Linked DNA regions of Homo sapiens: region 1 is linked to region 2. Evidence: promoter capture Hi-C in human tissues and cell types (Jung and others, 2019). All regions are on one chromosome and are shown on one strand. The core of a region is centred on a gene start or on the middle of the fragment in contact, and the rest is flanking DNA. Distances in the headings are between cores, read along the strand shown.

Region 1 (6,962 bases), core at 914-3,413, 340 kb after region 2:
GTTGCTGCAGAAGACACGATTTAATTCTTTTTTTATAATTGAGTAATGTTCCATGATGTACACACACACACACACACACACACACACACACACACACACGAACACACCCCACATCTTTATCTAATCGTTTGCTGACAGACACCTAGGTTGATTTCATAAATTTGCTATTGTGAATAGTGCTGTATTAAAAATAGATGTGGAGGAGTCTTTTTTATATAATGCCTTCTTTTCCTTTCGGTAGATACCCCACAGGGGGATTGCTGTGTAGAATGATAGCTCTATTTTCAGTTTTTTTGAGAAATCTTTATACTGTTTTCCATAGAGGTTTTTACTAATTTACATTTCCACTGACAGCATGTAACCATTCCCTTTTCATTGCATCCTCACCAACACATGTTATTTTTGACTTTTTAATAATAGCCATTCTGACTGGTGTATGATGGTATCTCACTGTGGTTTTAATTTGCATTTCTCTGATGATTAGTTATGTCAAACTTTTTTTTAAAATGTTTGCTGGTTGCTTGTGTGTCTTCTTTTGAAAAATATATGTTCACTTTTTAATAGAATTGCTTGTTTTGTGCTTGCTGAGCTGTTTTAGTTCTTTGTGGCTTCTGGATATTGGCCTTTTGTTGGATGCATAGTTTGCCAATATTTCCCCCCATTCTGTAGGTTGTCTGTTTACAACCTAATAATACATAGATTATTAATTTTTCTGTGCAGATGCTTTTAGTTTGATTCAGTCTTATTTGTCTATTATTGTTTTTGTTGTGTTTGCTTTTGAGAACTTAGTCATAAATTCTTTGCCTCGCTCGATGTCCGGAAGAGTTTTATTAGGTTTTCTTCTAGGATTTTTACAGTTTCAGTTCTTACATTTAAGTCTTTAGTTCATCTTGTGTTAATTTCTATATATGTTGAGGAATAGGGGTCCAGTTTCCTTCTTCTGCATATAGCTATCCAGTTTTCTTAGCCCCATTTGTTGAATAGGGTGTTTATTTTTCAGTGTGTATTTTTGTTGACTTTGTTGAAGATCAGTTGATTGTAGATATGTAGCTTTATTTCTGTGTTGTCTATTCTGTTCCATTGATCTATGTGTCTATTTTTATATCAGTATCATGCTGTTTTGGTTACTATAGTATTCTAGTAGTATAATTTGAAGTCAGGTAATATGATGCCTCGAGGTTTAGTTTTTTGCTTAGGATAGCTCTGGCTATTCAGGTTCCTTTTTGTTTCCATGTGAACATTAAGATTTTTTAAAAATTCACAGCAACCTGGGTGGAACTGGAGACTATTATTCTAAGTGAATAACTCAGAAATGGAAAACCAAACATTGTGTGTTCTCACTCATAATTGGGAGCTAAGCTATGAGGATGCAAAGGCATAAGAAAGATAAAATGAACTTTGGGGACTCAAGGGAAAGGGTGGGAGAGGCGAGGGACTATAAATTGGGTTCAGTATATACTGCTTAGGTAATGGGTGCACCAAAATCTCACAAATCACCACTATAATTACTTACCAATGTAACCAAATACAATGTGTTCCCCCAAAACCTATGGAAATAAAAAATTAAAAAGAAAACATTGGTAATTTGATAGGAATTCTGTTGAGTCTGTAGGTGGTTGTCTTGGGGAGTATGTTCATTCTAAAAATATTGATTTTTCTAATTAATGAGCATGGGATGTTTTTCATTTGTTTGTATCATCTGCAAATTCTTTCATTAGTGTTTTGTAGTTCTCCTGGTAGAGATATTTTACCTCTTGGTTAAATGCATTGCTGGGTATTTTATTTTATTTTTGTGGCTATTGTAAATAAGATTGCATTCTTTATTTGGCTCTTAGCTTAATTGTTACTGGCATATAGAAATGCTACTGATTATTGTACATGTTACTTGTATTCTGAAACTTTGCCGAAGTTATTTATCTAATCTGGGAATTTTTTGGAAGGGTCTTTAGGGTTTTCTAGGTACAAGATTTTATCATCAGCGAACAGAGATAATTTGATTTGCTCTTTTGCAGTTTGGCTGCCTTTTGTTATCTTCTATTGCCTGATTGATCTGGCTAGAACTTCCAGTACTGTGTGGATTATGGCTGGGTGAAAGTGGGCACGCTTGACTTGTTTCAGTTCTTAGGGGGAGCGCTTTCAGGTTTCCCCCATTCAGTGTGATGTTAGCTGTGGGTTTGTAATATGTGGCTTTTATTATTTTGATGTATATTCCTTCAATGCCTAGTTGGTTGAAAGTTTTTATCATTAAGCAATGCTGAATTTTACTGAATGCTTTTTATGCATCATTGAGATGATCAGAAGCTTTTTGTTTATAATTCTTTTTATGTGGTAAATCACATTTATTGATTTGTGCATGTTGAATTATCCTTACATCCCTGGGATAAAACACGCTTGATAATGGTGTACTATCTTTCTGATGTGCTGTTGAATTGGTTTTGCCAGAATTTTGTTGAGGATTTTTGCATCTATATTCATTAGGGGTATTGGTCTGTAGTTTTCTTTCTTCTTCTTGTGACCTTTCCTGGCTTAGTATCAAGTTGATACTGGCTTTGTAAAATGAATTAGGAAAGATTCCCTTCTCCTCAATTTTTTTGAAACTGTTTCAGTAGAATTGGTAACAGTTCTTTTTTGTATATCTGGTAGGATTTGGCTGAGAATCCATCTGGTCTTGGCCTTTGTTTTGTTAGGAGATTTTTTATTACTGATTCAATTGCACTACTCATTCCTGGTCTTTTGAGGATTTCTATTCTTCCTGGTTCAACAATGCTACATTGTATGTTTTCAGAAATTCATTCATTTCTTATAATTTTTTTAGTTTGTGCACCTACAGATGCTCATAGTAGCCTTTGATGATCATTTGTATTTCTGTGGTATCAGTTGTAATGTCACCTTTATCATTTTTGGTTATGCTTAATTTGACTCTTCTCTTTTTCTTGGTTAATCTAGCTAGCAGTCTATCAACTTTATTTATTTTTCAAATAACTAACTTTTTGTTTCATCGATCCTTTGTTCCTTATTTTTAGTCTCAATTTCATTTAGTTCTGCTCTCGTCTTTGTTTTTTTTTTTTCTTCTTAAAACTTTCGGTTAGCTTATTTTGGTATTCTAGTTCCTTGAGGTGTGACATTGGGTTTGTAATTTGAGCGTTTTCTATCGTTTTGATCTAGGCATTTAACACTATAAAGTTCCCTCTTAGCACTGCTTTTGCTGTACCACAGAAGTTTTGATATATTGTGTTTGTATTTTGTATTGTATTTGTATTTGTATTGATATTTTTGATATATTTTGTTTGTATTTTCATTTGTTACAATATTAAACAAAAAAACTTCTGTCTTAATTTTATCATTGACATAATGATCATTCAGGACTAGGTTGTTTTATTTCAATGTGTTTGTTTAGTTTTCAGAGTTCCTCTTGGTATTAATTTCCAGTTTTATTCCACTGTGGTCTGAGAAGACTCCTGACATGATTTTGATGTTTTTTAAAATGTATTGAGACTTGCTTTGTGGCCTGTCATATAATCTATTTTGGAGAATGTTCCATTCATATATAAGAAGAATGTATATTTTGCAATTGTTATGTAAAGTGTTCTGTAAATGTCTAGTAGGTGCATTTGGTCTAGAGTCCAATTTAAGTCCAGAGTTTATTTGTTGATTTTCTTTCTTGATAATGTTTAGTGCTCTCAGTGGGATGTTGAAGTCCCCCACCATTATTGTACTGTGATCCATCTCTTTTCTTAGTACTAGTAGTATTTGTTTTATAGATCTGAGTGCTCTGGTATAGGGTGCATAAGCATTTAGGATTGTTACATCTTATTGAATTAATCCTTTTATCATTATATAATGACCCTTTCATCTATTTTTACTGTTGTTGATTTAAAGCCTGCTTTATGTTATATAACTACTCTTGCTCGCTTTTTATTTTTGTCTGCATGGAATATCTTTTTCCAGCCCTTTGAGGAAAAATTGCAGACTTTGGCTTTATGAATATCTTTACCAGTTAGGTGGGTTTCTTGTAAACACCATATGGCTTGATCTTTTTTTAAAAGAATTAATTCCATGAGTCTATATCTTTTAAGTGCAGTATGTAGTTCATTTGCATTCAAGGTTACTATTGACTTGTGAGGTTCTAGTCCTGTCACAATACTAATAGTTACCTAGTTGCTGTGTGGACTTAATTGTGTAAATGCTTTTTAAGAATGTTTTATTCTTTCCTTTTTTTTTTTTTTTTTTTTTTTGACAGCAAGTGTTGCCCTTTTGTTTCCACGCTTGGGATTCTTTTGAGCATTTCTTGTAGATATGGGCTAGTGGTGACAAATTCCCTTAGCATTTGCTTGTCTGGAAAAGACTTTATTTTTCCCCCATTTATGAAGCTTAGTTTAGTAGGATACAAAACTCTTTGCTAGCAGTTTTTTATTTTATTTTTATTCATGTATTTTTTATGAAGGCTGAAAATATGACCACAGTCTCTTCTGGCTTGTAAGGTTTCTGCTGAAAAGTCTACTGCTAGTATTACGGGGTTCCTTTGTAAGTTATTAGATGCTTCTCTCTTGCTGATTTTAGAATGTTTTTGTTCGTATTGACTTTGGGTAGTCTGATGATGACATGTCTTGGTGAAGTTCATTTTGCAATATATCTTCCAGCTATTTCTTGAGCTTCTTGTATCTGGATGTCTAAATCTTTAGCAAGACCAGACTATTTTTCCTAAATTATTCCCTCAAATAGGTTTTCCAAACTTTTTATTTTTACTTATTCTCTCTCAGGAATAGCTGTGACTCATGTTTGGCCGCTTTACATAGTTGCATATTTCTTGTATTGGAATGCTTTGTTAATTAAAAAATTTTTTTTCATTATTTTTGTCTGGCTACATAAATTCAAAAGACCTGTCTTCCAGCTTAAAATTATTTCTTCCACTTGGTCTAGTCTATTCTTAAAGCTTTCAATTATAATTTTAAATTTTTTCCATAAATTTTTATTTCCAGAAGTTGTGTTTTTTTAAATATTGATCTCTTTAGTTTAATTTTTATGCATAAACTGTATTGTTTTTCTGATTTCTTTGTGTTGGCTTTTATCTTTCCCTGGATCTCATTGAGCTTCCTTACAATTCATATTTTGAATTATTTATCTGTCATTTCAGAATTTTCATTTGGATTAGAATGCATTGATAGAGAGCTAGTATTATCCATTGGGGAATGTCAAAACATCTGCTAGACATTTTATGTTAGTTTCTTTTTACCTGGAGAAAGTATCACTTCTTATTTTTGAATTGACTTTTGCTTGAATGGGACTTTTTTCCTTCCCTTGCAGATGCAACTGTTCATTAATTAGGTAGAGTCTTTTGGCTTTGGTTTTTATTCTGCTTTTAGGTGGCCAAGGCTTTGTATAAATTCCTTGGTTATAGATAGATAGTCTTAGTGTGGTGGTTTTCTCAAATTCTGTTTTTTTTTTTGTTTTGTTTTTTTGTTTTTGTAGGTTGTAGTAGCAGTGTGCTGGGTGTGTGAGTAGGCTTACTGCCTCTTGCAGATATGGTGAGGTGGGGGTGTTGGAAAGATTATCTTGTTCTCCAGTCCTGTGCACTTCTGTTAGCAATTTTATTAGGTTGTGAATTTTGATATCCAGGCCAGTAGGTGACACTGCAGGTAAGAACCAGCCAAGTGCTGTGTAATTGTGTTAGCTGAGGTTGTAATGGGCTGTACAGATTGACCTCCCAGCCATGAGGTGTTGCTTGCAGGAGAGAGGCAGCTGCAGTGATCCCAGTGGGATTTATGCCTGGCTTTTGATAATCAGAAGTACTCAGATGTCTGGGCGATGGGTGAGGCCATGGAACTCTCACCAGTCTCATTCCATGCTCTGACACCAAGATAGGTGGAGAGGGCAAAGCTGGGCACAACTACTGGGTTGGGCAAGCCTCTGTCCAGGCTTTCCAATGGCAGGCACAATTGCTGACCCTGAATGGTTAGGAAACAACTTTCAGGCCTCTGGGGCAAATTTCCAAGGTGGTTAAGAGGCACTTTTATTGTGCTCAGGAGGCTGCTCTGGGGACATGGCTTGCCAAGAAGCCACAGTCCACCAGGTGCCAGTGGGACCCACATAAGCCCCCAAACCAGTGGGTCTCCCTTCAGTGTCTAGCTGCTGGCAGCAGACCAGAACGGCTAGCCCTGTCCCAAGCAGTCTGCATTCAGATCATGAAGCTATCCCAGGCTGTGAGACTGCATTCCCAGGGCAGAAAGCGCAGCTTTCAGGCTATACCCTTCCCAGTCCAGTCTTGTGAAGGAAGGGGTGCTAAGCTCCACTGTTGCAGCAGGAACCTGCGCCACATTGTCTTCCCAGTTTTGACCATGGGGGCTCCTCTCCTGGTTGAGAACAGATTGCAAATCTCATTCTCATATCCCTGGAAGGAGGGCCCGAGACCAGGATTGATGGGATCAGAGCAGTGAACTTATTCTCAGGACCTCTTGACTCAAGCACTAGCTGTGACAGAGAGGGGCAGGCTGGTCCCAGGCCACTGGAGGAACACTCAGGCAGGGCAACAACAGCTGCCCTGTGGATCTGCCACCAGGAAGGGTCGGCCCTTTCCATGGGAATGGCCAGATAGGAAGCTTCTGGAGAGGCCGGCAGGCATGCAGCATATGGTCTGAATGTGCCTTGGTCCTGCAGCAGTCTGTGGCAGTGGCAGAGGAATTTGTCCTTGGCGTGTGTGAGTACCTTGCCTCTCCTCACCCTCCCTGGTTTGACAGCTGGCAGCAACAGCCTTAGGGCAGGATGCAGAACCCTGGGGAATGTCTTACCAGAATGGTACTGCTGCAGCTTCCCACTGCTCAGGAGCCTGTGGGACTCCATGTGAGTTTGAGCAGTGCCTCTGTGTGATCTCAAGGGAGCTCCCTATGTCTGTCTGGAGGCCAGCGAGGGTTGAGGAGCTCTCCTGTAGCTAGGAATGCAAAAGTCCATGATAGGGATGTGGAGCC
Region 2 (6,247 bases), core at 1,945-4,444:
TGCAAAAGTAGATGCTTAGTAAATACCTCCTGGGTGAATGAATGAGTATTTCATATGTAAGGGAAGTGATGGAAATTGTTGGAGTGGTATATGGATTACCTCTGTTCCATCAAGAGGCATATCAAGAACAAATATTTGAAACCTATAGAGAGACAATGTAGTATAACGGTTAAAGGAATGTGTGCTGGAGCCGGACTCAAACTGCATACCAGCTTCAGCACTTGCCAGGGATGTGATCTTAGGCAGGTAGGTAACCGCTCAGTGCCTCAATTTCCTCATTTGTGAAACAGGAATAATATTTACCTTAAATAATCTTTGTGAAGATTATATGAGCTAAAAATTAATATGTAAAGTAGAACAGTGCCTGGTACAAGGTAACTATTCTATGAGTAAAAACTGTAACATCTCTACTTAGCAGAAATCTAGACAATAGTACTTATCACCAAGTTAAATTTTGTATTATTCACTGATGTTTTCTCATCTATCTTCGTCCTGGCCTCCAGATCAATTTCTAAAATGTTGAACAAACAGGATAAAAAAGGGTCTCTGGAATCCTCATTTTTCAGGTGAAGAAACCAAGCCCCAGAGCCAGCAAGGGAGCTGTTCAAGGCCACTCCTGTCTTGGCAGAGCCAGTCCTAGAATTTAGGTCTACTTTCATGTTATTTTCAAATATTTTAATGAAAAAAAAAATTCAGCAATGAAACACATGTAAAATGGATACCCATAATTGAGATGCTTAAAGGTTTTAGGATAGGACTGCAATAATTGATTTTTAAGCTCTTATTTGGCAACAGGTAATCAAGAATTATAGCCCTCAGTAATTTGTAGAAGATTTGGGGAAATAATTTCTTATAGACATTAATTAATTGTAGTAGGTCCTGACTACTTTTTTTTTCTTGTCCTGTAACTTACATGAAATCGATGAAAATGTTTAGAGTAACATGAAAGAATAAATCACTCACTGTGATATCCAGGTATCTAAGAGTATAGTTTTTTACTATAAACAAACAGACAAACCAAGAAATATTAAAATCACCCCTTTACGAGAAACTTCAGTCATGAAATAGTTTTGAGGATTGTTCAGACTAATTATCTTTATAATGTAGGTCGTTACTTTTGTGGCCTGGCAGCATTCCTAATCTGGACAGGTGTTCAGAGTTCATGCATTTCAGTGTGAATGCTCATTTATAATAGACACAGCACAGGGAAAGTAAACTTCTACTGTTTTCCCTTACTGTCAGAACTGTTAAGCAATTAGAAATTCAAGGCATTCATTTAGTTGAGAATAGTGTTTTTATCCTTAATTCAATTTCCCTGATTTTATAGTGTATATAAATCACAAAGTATTTACATATAGTTTAAAAAAATATATTTTGCATCTTAACAAATGCACTTTTAAGGCTCTAATCACCAAAAAGCAGCTGAAACTCAATCAGGTTTCAAGGAAGTCATATAATCAGAGTCCCAAGATTAAAAGAAAAAAAATTGTAATTTCTTTACAGTTTTAAAATTTTGAAATGACAGGTAGACAATTACATATTTACATTTTAGCTTATAATAACTTCTTTAGCAGAATATATGGTTTAGAAAAAGAATCTCCAATGCCTGATTATCTCTTCTACTATATATTTTTTAACAAACTTTTCAGTTACACCAAAAATTAATATTTGCCTCAATGTTCAGAAATAATGCTTTTCTCAAGAAAATTAATTTAAAAAGAGGGTATATATAACTCCACCAAACTAAACTATAACAAATATCTCCAGAAAGAGATAAAAGTTTTATTTTATCTAAAACATTTTAGTAATGTAAGAATTCTTCATTTTAAAGACTATGAAGAAAATTAACTCATGTGACAAGCTCAAAATTAACATTATTTACACAAAGAAACAAATCTTCTGTTTTACCATCAAGATGATAAAGAAAAATGATAACAAAATTAGAAATGGTAGATACTGTGTTAACCAGAGAAAGAAAAAAAAGAGCTTATCTTAGGCAAGCCTCTTTATATGTTCAGTACTATTTTAAAAAGGAGCCTCCTTCAAACTTATATTTGAAATCTCCATCTTAAATATAATATTGATAGGAAGGTATGGATGAAGAAAAAGGGAAAAAAATTCCCTTCAGCTGAATATCGGATATTCTAGAGTTTCTCTGCCATATCATCCTGCTCTCTGGTGGTGAACAGCATTGCTCAGTAGTTGATAACATGAAATTTTCTAAGGGCAAAAAAAAAAAACAAAAAAAAAGTGTGTGTCCCAGATCAGTTGCACACATCTCAATATTTGATTTGTATTTTAATTTAATACAAATGTATTAAGAATGTAGCTGTTTGCATTGTCTAGAAGGGTTTTCTTCTAAACTCTTCCAGATTACATGTTGCTATATTTCAATATGTTTATAAAGAATATAGATACTAATACATTTTCGACATTAAATAACTCTGATGCTTAAACAGTATCCAGCTATTAGAAAAACTATTTGAAAAAGGATCTGAGTAAACCCCTTAAAGATGTAACTTTGCTTTTACCTGCCCCCACAAAATGGATATATTAAATAGAAGATATATCTGTTTTCTTTAAATTTAAAGTTTCTGTATTTGATACCTAGATTGATTCTTTCCATTTCCATTTAATTTTATTAATTGTATAGTTTTAAATAATGTCTATAAACTGCATCAAATAGAAAGCCTTTTGAGGATCATTACTGTGTAGATAGGCAGGTAGTTTAAAGTCTCTGATATTCCTTACAAAATTCTGTCAAGGCAACAGACATGTGTTCTGTTAAACAGATCTACTTCAGAATCATTATAAGTTGGTGAATATCTTAAACAATTACAAGAGGTCATTTCTTTAGTACCATAATCTTATGAAAGGGAAGCTTTAAAATCATCCCTGAATGAGACGGTCCTTTGTTTCACTTAATTTAATCAAAATACTCTATATTTCTTCTTCAAGAATAAAATGAAGCACTTGTTCAATCTTGAAATTTTTAGATTATTTGAAAGCAAAGTTGTTATCTCTTAAAAGCCCCTACATTTATGAGTGAGGCATTAATGCACAGTATAAATAAATAAATACACTTACCTGGAATTAAAGTTCAGAGCTGAAAATGCTTGAGAAAGTTGCAATAGATGGAAAAGAAACGGAAACAGTACCACTCGTTACCATCGGCTCAGGCTTTTTGACTTTACAAGTGGTAGCAACACCAGTCCTGGCCCAGTACTCTCATGTTATGTAACATCTTATTAATATTAGCCATCAAACTGCTACCAAGCTGGTGAGGCACTAGAGGGCAAGAGTGTCACATGCAAGACCCGTCGCCAAGGGACCGGCTTTGGTACCACTTCGGGGGAAGACAGATGCTAACTAAGCTGATGAATAACAGGATGCCCGAATACAACAGCAAACTTGTAACGTTCCTCAAAGAATATTTTACATGTCAATTTTCTGACTAGCGGAAGAGTTAACAGGTTAATAAATATGAGCAAGCAAATAACCACACCATGAAAAACTTTTAGGATTATATTTACAAACCCACAGTCACTCAAGAGGCTGTTTGTTTTTTTCTTTCCATTGTCTAAATAAACTTATTTAAAACAGGAGAAAAAAGCTGGTTAAATAAAACGAGTGTCGGTTTCAGGACTCCCTCATTCCAAGCCGCGAGAAACTTGTCTGGTCGAGATGCCGCCTCTGGAGTCCGCATTCCAAGGCGCCCGGATCGGGTTTCTGGGCGAGGAGACCGGCCCCGTCCTCCATGGAGATTACCTGGGGCTGCAGCCGTCCGCGGGCTCCTCCTTCCCTCGGGTCTTCGGCCTCAGCCGCTCCCCAGGGCCCCTCGTCCGGGTGGCGCTTGGGTGCTACGCGGTGCCCGGGGTCCGGCGGGGGCGACAAGCGGGCGACCTCTCCCCTCCGCGCCCGGGATCTGCGCGGACACAGCTGGTGGCGACTTCGGCCGCTCAGGCTGCGGCTGCGGGGCGAGCGCAGCGGGTGCGCCGGGGACTCCTGCGCTGGAGAACCACGGCCCTGGGACCCGCCCGGCCGCGCCTCCGCCGCCCTCGCCACCGCCTCCCGGGCGGGAGCCGCCGCCTCCCAGCTCCCGGCCCGCGCGCGCCCGCCCCGGGGAAGGGGAGGGAGCGGGAGCTGAGGACGGGAGCCGCCTCCATCGACCGGGCTCCCGCCCGGACCGGCCCTGAGGATCTGGCTGCCCGGGCCTCGACAAGGAGACCCCGGGGGTTCCGCCCCGGCCTGCCAGTTCCGACCGCCCCTCCCGGCGGGTTGGCGGCGGCCGCCAAGGATGAAACGTCTTGTGCGGCCAGGGAAAGGGGTGCGAGTCCCCGAGGCGACGCTGGAAGGGTGGGGCGCACCCGCGCGGTCCCTTCCTGTGGTGCTCCTGCCGTTGGCACTGGACCAGGGCGGCTGCGAGGCTGCAAGAGTTTCCTCTGTTCGCCAGTTTTTTTCAAATGCCATGTGTTTCAGCTCCTGAAGACAAGTGGAAGGCCAGCAACTGAAGAGATATTTTGGATTCAAGGTGTGAGGTTACCCTCTCCAGAACTATAGTTTGATTAGAAGTGTGAATCGAATGATATATATTTTTAAAAATTTCATTTGGTTCCACTAACATGTGAATTGTATTAAGTGGGGTCTACTAATGATACTTTGTATTGGCCATTTGTGGTTTTGCTTCCCAGCACTCACTCTTGTTGAAACAGTACTCCTGTTCATTTTGGAAGATCCAACCACTTGATCTCACCCCGCAGCCCATTTGCTTTAGGTGATGTCAGCCGCTGCTGACTCACTGGTAGACCCACAGCTCAGGTCTGGCCAGTGATGGCTTTCTGTCCTGGTAGCATGGGTAGGTATGTAACCCAGGTCTGGCCAATCAGAGAGAAAAACAGAAAAAAACCACCATTCTGGGACTTTTTTTTTTCCTTCCTCTCTTAAGAAAGTGGACTCTCTTCTACTGGACTTTGCATAATGAAGATGTGAGCTTAGAGCTTGAAGTCTGAAAATAAAGCTGATACTCAGGAAGGCAGAACTGAGAGTTGGAGAAAAGTGAAACCCAGATGGAGATTTTCGAGCTTGGAATCGAGCTGTAGCTGAAATAAGTTCTATCTCTGGATATTTTCATTCATAAACAAATACATTCACTTTTTTTTTTGATTCGGAGTCGCGCTCTGTCGCCCAGGCTGGAGTGCAGTGGCGTGATCTCAGCTCACTGCAAGCTACGTCTCCCGGGTTCCCACCATTCTCCTGCCTCAGCCTCCCGAGTAGCTGGGACTATAGGAGCCCGCCACCAGGCCCGGATAATTTTTTGTATTTTGGTAGAGACGGGGTTTCACCGTGTAAGCCAGGATGGTCTCGATTTACTGACCTCGAGATCCGCCCACCTCGGCATCCCAAAGTGCTGGGATTACAGACTTGAGCCACCGCGACTGGCCACATTCACTTTTGTCTTAAGGCAGCTTGGACTGCATTTGCTGTCCCTTGAAACTGAAAGAGACACAAACGATGATACAGTAATTAAATATTCTGGTTGTTTATTAACTTTATCAGGGTATTTGGATTCGTAGTTCAAGACCTTCAATTAGAACCCAATGTCCTGAAAGGGTTAGTTGGAATTGTGTTTTAAAATCAGGAAGTTATATATCCTTTTTGTTCTATGTGATGGAGGGGTTACAGATGTGACTGAACCAATTGCTCCTTCTGGAAGCCCACAAAAATGTCAGGATGCTAGAATTCTTTGGCCAAGTAACATGTATTAGATTGGTTTTATTTATTTTTTAGTTGGAGTGTTCCCTGGAAGTCTTGTGCCTTTTAAGAATTTTAAGAACCCACATTTATTTTTCTATGTACTCCTTACCCAAGAGAGAGCCTGCTCTGTCTTCCGAGCAGCCATGCATTCATCATTTTAGTAATCAAAAAAATTATTGAACACCTACTAAATGGCTCTGGGAATACAATAATATTGAAAAAAGAAAAGCAGGACCACTCTCTGCCCTTCAGTCGCTTATATTGATATAGCTGTAGGAGGTCAGGCTCTTCTACAAGATTTCAGAGAATAGACAAGATTCATGAATTCATAAATTCCTAAATGTTTCAGGGAATGTAGGCAGATTCAGAAATGATATTCACTTTTTCTTTTCTTTTTCTACCTCCTCTGCACAAAAACACAAAACCAGAAAAACTTCTTCTACAAAATAAGATACTTACTATTCTTATGACTGTATTTTGGGGTTTTCTTCAG

What was found. Contacts are between HindIII fragments. The study calls those that stand out against the background at their distance.
Region 1: a contact is called between a fragment that was not itself captured here and the fragment with the promoter of NDST3 in region 2, in 2 of the 25 tissues and cell types used here (dorsolateral prefrontal cortex and mesenchymal stem cells).

Annotation. Positions count from the first base shown.
Region 1 is chr4:117,691,427-117,698,388 of GRCh38, reverse strand. No RefSeq gene overlaps it. Among named protein-coding and RNA genes, the nearest start is that of LINC02264, 140 kb to the left of the region's middle. The HindIII fragment of the contact is 7,205 bases long and covers 1-5,765 here.
Region 2 is chr4:118,031,433-118,037,679 of GRCh38, reverse strand. NDST3 (N-deacetylase and N-sulfotransferase 3) reads right to left here and starts at 3,194. Exons shown (of 14, transcript NM_004784.3): 1 at 3,088-3,194. The HindIII fragment of the contact is 9,214 bases long and covers 978-6,247 here.